2 separate regions of the Homo sapiens genome follow, and region 1 is linked to region 2. The links are contacts of gene promoters, found by promoter capture Hi-C in blood cells and fetal thymus (Javierre and others, 2016). All regions are on one chromosome and are shown on one strand. The core of a region is centred on a gene start or on the middle of the fragment in contact, and the rest is flanking DNA. Distances in the headings are between cores, read along the strand shown.

Region 1 (3,680 bases), core at 1,181-3,680, 3.8 Mb before region 2:
AAAAATTAGCTGGGCGTGGTAGCAGGCACCTGTAATCCCAGCTACTCGGAACGCTGAGGCAGGAGAATCGGTTGAACCCAGGCTGTGGGGGCAGAGGTTGCAGTGAGCCGAGATCCCACTACTTCACTCCAGCCTGGGTGAAAGAGTAAAACTCCGTCTCAAAAAAAAAAAAAAAAAAAAAAAAAAACCTTCCAGGTTCCCATTTTTTAGGAGATACAACCCAAATTCCTTAGCGTGACATTCAGGACACAATGACTCACGACCCAAGTCAGCCTTTTTGGTTTCTGCCCTTGACACTCTCCTTCCCACTGTACCAAGTGCTCTCTTATTCCCGCCCATCTCAACTTCCCCCAAGGCCTTCCCACTGGGGAGCCCAACACAATCCCACTTGCCCTTTGAAACCTAGTTCAAATACCATCTCTCCTTTCAAGTCTTTGCCGGACCCTAAACAAGGGAAGCCAATCATCCCTGTTTGTACCTGTTGTCTTAGTGCAATTACTGAAAGCGCTCATTTACTCAGAGTGCCCTGCTTTGAATGATAAATTATATGACCTTCCTACCTAAAACCTACCCTAACCCAAAGATAGAAATAGTACAGTGACTTGTGTTAAGTGTTTTGCTTGACGTTGTGCTCCTCAAGGGTAATAACTGTCTTGTTTTAGTGTGTACATCCAGCATTTAAAGACTGTTAGGACCTGCCAGGCGTTCAATGAACGTTGGTGGAATGAAAGAATAAATCTCAGCTGGGAGCAGTGGCTCACGCCTATAATCCCAGCACTTTGGAAAGCCCAGGTGGGCGAATCACCTTTAGTCAGGAGTTTGAGACCAGCCTGACCAACATGGAGAAACCCCGTCTCTATTAAAAATACAAAAAATTGGATGGTCGTGGTGGTGCATGCCTGTAACCCCAGCTACTCGGGAGACTGAGGCAGGAGAATCACTTGAACCCGGGAGGCAGAGGTTGCCGTGAGCTGAGATCGTGCCACTGCACTCCAGCCTGGGCAACAGAGAGAGAGTCCATCTCAAAAAAAAAAAAAGAAGAAGAAAAGAAAGAAAATTGTGGTAATGAATTTTATCAAAACTTCATCTAAACTTCCAAAGAGAAATTAGCCAAATCAGAATTAGATCTAAAAATTCCTGGGCCAAAAAGCAGGCGGTAAAAACATGTCACATAAGCCATTTATTTCCTAGTCAGTGTCTTAATTTTTTTCATTATCAACCCTCAAAGGAGCCTAAGTATAAAGCTTACTTTTTTAATTCAATAACAGGATCAGAATGACTCAATAAATATTTTAAAAGTTAAGTGTAAGGTTGGGCACGGTGGCTCACGCCTGTAATCCCAGCACATTGGGAGGCCAAGGCGGGTGGATCACTTGGGGTCAGGAGTTTGAGACCAGCCTGGCCAACATGGTGAAACCCCATCTCTACTGAAAAAAATACAAAAATTAGCTGGATGTGGTGGTGGGCGCCTGCAATTCCAGCTTCTCCGGAGGCTGAGGCAGGAGAATCACTTGAGCCCGGGAGGCAGACGTTACAGTGAGCCAAGATCATGCCACTGCACTCCAGCTTGGGTGACCAAGCAAGACTCTGTCTTTAAAAAAAAGGCCGGGCGCGGTGGCTCACGCCTGTAATCCCAGCACTTTGGGAGGTCGAGGTGGGTGGATCACAAGGTCAGGAGTTCGAGACCAGCCTGGCCAATATGGTGAAACCTCGTCTCTACTAAAAATACAAAAAAATTAGCCGGGTGTGGTGGCACATGCATCACGCCACTGCACTCCAATCTGGGTGACAAAGCGAGATTCCGTCTCAAAAAAAAAAAAAAAAAAAAAAAAGCCGGTGCAGTGGCTCACACCTGTAATCCCAGCACTTTGAGAGGCCGAGGTAGGTGGATCACCTGAGGTCAGGAGTTCGAGACCGGCCTGGCCAACGTGCTGAAACTCTGTTTCTACTAAAAATACAAAAATTAGCTGGGCATGGTGTTGGGCGCCTGTAATCCAAGCTACTCGGGAGGCTGAGGCAGGAGAATCGCTTGAACCCGGGAGGCGGAGGTTGCAGTGAGCCGAGATCATGCCATTGCACTCCAGCCTGGATGACAAGAGCAAAACTCCATCCCCCACCAAAAAAAGAAAAAAATGTTTAAAAAGCTATGAACATTTGGCCGGGCGCAGTGGCTCATGCCTGTAATCCCAGCACTTTGGGAGGCTGAGGCGGCCGGATCACGAGGTCAAGAGATCGAGACCATCCTGGCCAACATGGTGAAACCCCGTCTCTACTAAAAATACAAAAATTAGCTGGACGTGGTGGCACGCACATGTAGTCCCAGCTACTTGGGAGGCTGAAGCAGCAGAATCGCTTGAACCCAGGAGGCAGAGGTTGCAGTGAGCCGAGATTGTGCCACTGCACTCCAGCCTGGGCAACAGAGGGAGACTCCAACTCAAAAAAAAAATCTATGAACATTTAACTTTATAACTGTATTTGCTGAGTGACTTTTAATATAATGTTAAATATAATGCATCAAATTATATATACAAATTATCAATTTCTATACCTACATAATAGCAATGTAATCAACTTTTCAAAAAACATTCAAAACTGTTATTTTCCAGCAAAAGTAAAACTATTGAAAAAATCATTTTCTGAAAAGTGATTTTTTTTTTTTTTTTGAAACGGGGTCTGTCACCCAGGCTGGAGTGCAGTGGCATGATCAGAGTTCACTGCAGCCTCAACCTCCTAGGCTCAAGTGATCCTCCCACCTCAGCCTCCAGAATAACTTAGGACTACAGGCGGGCACCACCATGCCCAGCTAACTATTCATATTTTTATTTTTGTAGAGACAGGGTCTCACTGCGTTACGCAGGTTGAAAAGTGATTTTTAGTGAACTTTTGTTTCATATGAGAAAAATTTTTTTTTTTTTTCTGAGATGGAGTTTTACTCTTGTTGCCCCCGCTGGAGTACAATGGTGCGATCTCAGCTCATGCAACCTCTGCCTCCCAGGTTCAAGCGATTCTCCTGCCTCAGCCTCCCAAGTAGCTGAGATTACAGGTGCCCGCCACCACGCCCAGCTAATTTTTTTGTTATTTTTAGTAGAGACTGGGTGTCACCATGTTGGTCAGGCTGGTCTCGAACTCCTGACCTCAGGTGATCCACCCGCCTCAGCCTCCCAAAGTGATGGGATTACAGGCATGAGCCACCACACCTGGCCTCATATGAGAAAATTTTTAACTTAATTAGCTGCTAGATATTAATTCAAATACTGTCAATGTTTTCCTTTTTGGCACTTGAGATAATTATTGGTGAGCTGAATAATCTTAATTGAATTAAATAATAAAATATAAATGATTTTCATTCAATTCTCAAATCCTTATATTTGAGGGCCAAATATAAGCAAGCCACAAGGCACCCAATGGTAGCCCATAAGTATGTGAAGGTAACCAACTAAAATGACTTCAAGATCAGGCAACTAGAGAGAAAGTCTTCCAACCACAGCCATCTCTACGTTATAAATTTGTTGGATTGACCTTGAATATATTCTGTACATCTTCCATGAATCCATTATCAATGTTGCTAGTGTAATACACAAGAAAACCCAATGAGAGAAATTCAAATATTAAGAAACAAGCTTTTGTTGATTGAGCTTTAAATGGCCACACACCATTATAATATCTAAGATGCTTGTGCT
Region 2 (4,165 bases), core at 1,479-3,978:
AGAGCAAGACTCCATCTCAAAAAAAAAAGAATTAAAACTAGCCAGGCGTGGCAGCAGGCACCTGTAATTCCAGCTATTCGGGAGGCTGAAGTGGAAGGAAGGATCGCTTGAGCCCAGGAGATGGAGGCTGCAGTGAGCCACATTCAGGCCACTGCACTCCAGCCTGAGAGACAGAGCCAGACTATCTCAAAAAATAAAAACAAAAAAGTAAATTTAATGCCACATCCATGTTGAAAGCATTTAAAGTGGACATGTGTTACAAGATGGTGGATCCTGCAGAGAAAAGGGAATGCTTGTACTTTGTTGGTGGAATGTAAAGTAGTACAGCCATTATGGGAAACCATAGGCTCCTTAAAAAACTAAAAATAGAAGTACCCTATGATCCAGCAATCCCACTGCTGGGTATATATCCAAAAGGAAGGAGATCAGTATATGAAAGAGGCATCTGCACTCCCATGTTTAGTGACACATTATTCACAATAGTCGAGATACAGAATCAACCTAAGTTGAATGGATAAAGAAAACAGATGAATGGATAAAGAAATTGTGGTATATATACACAATGGAATATTATTCAGCCACACAAAAAGAAGAAAATCCTGTCATCTGCAGCAACATGGATGGGACTGGAGGTCATTATCTTAAGTAAAATAAACCAGGCACGGAAAGACAAATATCACATGTTCTCACATGTGAAAGCAAAAAAAGTGGACCTCATGGAGGTAGGGAGTAGAATGGTGGTTAACACAGTCTAGGAAAGGAAAAGGAGAGAAGGAGGGAGGAAGAGAAGTTGATTAATGGGTACAAATATACAGTTAGATAGAAGGAATAAGTTCTAGTGTTCAATAGTACATAAGTGAAACTATAGTTAAAAATAATTTATTGTGTATTTTAAAATAGCTAGAAAAGAACTGAAATGTTTCCAACACAAAGGAAAGATAAATGTTTGAGATGATGGCTATCCCATTTATCCTGATCTGATCCTTATACATTGTATAAGTGTATCAAAATATCAAAATTTTATATCCCCAAAATATGTACAACTATGAACATAAATAAAACAGGCCAGGCTCGGTGGCTCACATCTGTAATCCCAGCACTTGGAGTGGCCAAGGCGGGGGGATTGCTGGAGGCCAGGAGCTCAAGACCAGCCTGGGCAACATGCCGACCCTAGGCATGGTGCCACGCACCTGTAGTCCCAGCTACTCAGGAGGGTGAAGTGGGAGGATCGCCTGAGCCCAGGAGTTGGAGGCTGCAGTGAGCTGTGATCGCACAACTGCACTCCAGACTGGGCGACAGAGTGGGAGACCCTGTCTCAAAACAAAAAACAATGGCTCATATCTATAATCCCAGCACTTTGGAAGACCGAAGCAGGAGGATTGCTTGAGCCCAGGAATTTTGAGACCAGCCTGGGCAACATGGTTAGCTACTGTCTCTAAAATAATAATACTTTAAAAAAATAGAGGCCGGGCACGGTGGCTCACGCCTGTAATCCCAGCACTTTGGGAGGCCGAGGCAGGTGGATCATGAGCTCAGGAGATCGAGACCATCCTGGCCAACATGGTGAAACCCCGTCTCTACTAAAGATACAAAAATTGGTTGGGCGTGGTGGCAAGTGCCTGTAATCCCAGCTACTCGGGAGGCTGAGGCAGGAGAATCGCTTGAACCAGGGAGTTGGAGGGTGCAGTGAGCCGAGATCGTGCCACTGCACTCCAGCCTGGCAACAGAGGGAGACTCCATATGAAAGAAAAGAATTCCTCTTGGCCTACAGTGGGAATGATTAAATAGAGATACTGGCTAAAGTTGATAAAACAGAAGTGGAAAAAGTAGGGAAGGGGCTTTTACTTTCCATACTTTTCTTAAAAGGGTATTTGTTTTTAATACCCTTCTCCGTTGTTTTATGCTAACTCCAACATGCCTTACTAATTAAAAAATTAAAAATTATAAAATTAAACAACCACCTTCAAAGGCTCCCTTGAGTCCAAAAGGTGTTTTGTACATATGGTTCCCATGCTCTTCCACTACCACCCGCCATCCCTCCCACTACTTCACAGACCACCCCTCCACCACATAGGCAGAGTTAAGCTGCTCCTCCAGTCTTGCACTCTCCCCATCTGCAGACTTTTGCACTCCCCTACAGAGCGCTTCCGGCACTCTTGCATTATTTACTGTCTGTCTCTGCCCCTAGGCTGGCAGCAACTGGGAGTAGGAACTTTGGAGCCAATGCCTGGCACAGAGTAACTGCTCAACCAATTCTGATTAATCAACCTCCGGGGTCTACAAAAGGGGGAGTCCCCCGGCGTCCCCCGGTTCAGGCTCCCTCGCCCCGCCGGCCCCGGCCTCCTTACACTCCGAGGTGCGTGTGCGACACGATCTTTCCGCAGGCAATGGTTGCCGGGCCTGGCTCGAAGCCGAGCGCCTGCAGATACATCCAGAGATGCTCCTTCTCGAAAGCGGTGACCGAGGCCGAGCTCATCCTCGCGGTAGGCACGGTGGCTGCAAAGAAAGAAAGCGCAAGCCCAGGGGACTCGGAGGGCCCTCAAGATCCCTCCCTACGGTCAGCCTGAGGTCGCGGTGGTCCTTCCATTGCCAACGCCTGCTCCTTTCACGCCCAGAGCGATTTCGCCTCAAAGGGCCTCACAACCTCCGGGAAATTGAGTTTCTAACGGTATAGTGCGGCCACCACTGCCTCAGCGAAGCCACCACAAACCGAGACTCCCGCCCTTAAGGAAGAGCAGTGTGCGCCGGCGCCGCCAGGCGTCCGAGGGAGGAGGGACTTCCGGCAAAGACTATATCTCCCGCCATGCAATGCGTCCTTCTCTCCTCCCTTCCGGCCATGCCCAGCCAAGAAACTGCAAGACCCACCGGGCATTGCGCGGCCAGCGACTTGCTCTGCGCTTGCTTAACCGCTGTCGTGCCCAGATCCTCGGGCCTTCGGGTTTCTGATTCTTGGTTAGTGGGGTCCATTTGCTTGTGTATCCTAGTTGTTACGTCACAAAAAAGCCATAAATGGAGCACTATGCCTCGGTGTAGAGTTAAAGCATTGGTTCCATCCTCCGCTATGCTCACTGTGACTCTAATCAAGTCACGTAATCTCTGAGCCTCATTTCTGTCGTTAGCGAAATCTATGTCCTCAAATGCCGGATGTTCCTTTTCCTGCTTTAAATGAAATCTGGCTCTATACTCCCCTGCAGTCCTGCAGTCTTTTTTTTTTTTTTTTTTTTTTTTGAGACGGGGTTTCGCTCTTGTTGCTCAAGTTGGGGTGCAGTGACGCGATTTCGGCTCACTGCAACCTCCGCCTCCCGGGTTCAAGCGATTCTCCTGCCTCAGCCTCCCGAGTAGCTGGGATTAACAGGTGTCCGCCACCACGCCCGGCTAATTTTTTTGTATTTTTAATGGAGACGGGGTTTCACCATGTTGGCTGGCTGGTCTCGAACTCCTGACCTCAGGTTATCTGCCGGTCTTGGCCTCCCAAAGTGCTGGGATTACAGGCGTGAGCCACTGCGCCTGGCCGCCTGCAGTCCTCTTAATTTTTTTTTTTTTTTTTTTTTTTTTTTTGAGACGGAGTCTAGCTCTGTCTCCCAGGCTGGAGTGCAGTGGCGCAATCTCGGCTCACTGCAAGCTCCGCCTCCCAGGTTCACGCCATTCTCCTGCCTCAGCCTCCCGAGTAGCTGGGACTACAGGCTCCCACCACCACGCCGGGCTAATTTTTTGTATTTTTAGTAGAGACGGGGTTTCACCCTGTTAGCCAGGATGGTCTCGATCTCCTGACCTCGTGATCCGCCCTCCTCGGCCTCCCGAAGTGCTGGGATTATAGGCGTGAGCCACCGCACCCGGCCCGTCGTCTTAATTGACAGCTGTTGCCTACCACAAACCCCACTGACAACAGGGCCTGGAAGTGGATTGGGTAACCTGCTTTTAAGTCTCATTGCTACCTCTGGCAATGATTGTCTCCTGCCTCACTAAAATCACCTTAATAAAAGAGAGAGAGGCGGGGCACAGTGGCTCACGCCTATAATCCCAGCACTTTGGGAGGCCAAGGTGGGCGGATCACCTGAGGTGGGGAGTTCGAGACCAGCCTGACCAACATGTAGAAACCCCGTCTCTACTAAAAATACAAAATTAGCCGGGCGTGGTAGCGCATGCCTGTAATCCCAGCTCAGCT

What was found. The method cuts DNA at HindIII sites, captures the fragments that hold promoters and counts their contacts. A CHiCAGO score of 5 or more calls a contact.
Region 1: a fragment that was not itself captured here is called in contact with the fragment with the promoter of HAUS6 in region 2 in 1 of 17 cell types (M1 macrophages); the score reaches 7.4 in M1 macrophages.

Annotation. Positions count from the first base shown.
Region 1 is chr9:15,300,732-15,304,411 of GRCh38, forward strand. The region is part of intron 1 of TTC39B (tetratricopeptide repeat domain 39B); the gene reads right to left. Among named protein-coding and RNA genes, the nearest start is that of TTC39B, 4.6 kb to the right of the region's middle. The HindIII fragment of the contact is 2,376 bases long and covers 1,243-3,618 here.
Region 2 is chr9:19,100,176-19,104,340 of GRCh38, forward strand. HAUS6 (HAUS augmin like complex subunit 6) reads right to left here and starts at 2,729. Exons shown (of 17, transcript NM_017645.5): 1 at 2,349-2,729. The coding sequence starts at 2,476. RefSeq lists an enhancer at 2,408-2,971. The HindIII fragment of the contact is 8,228 bases long and covers 1-4,165 here.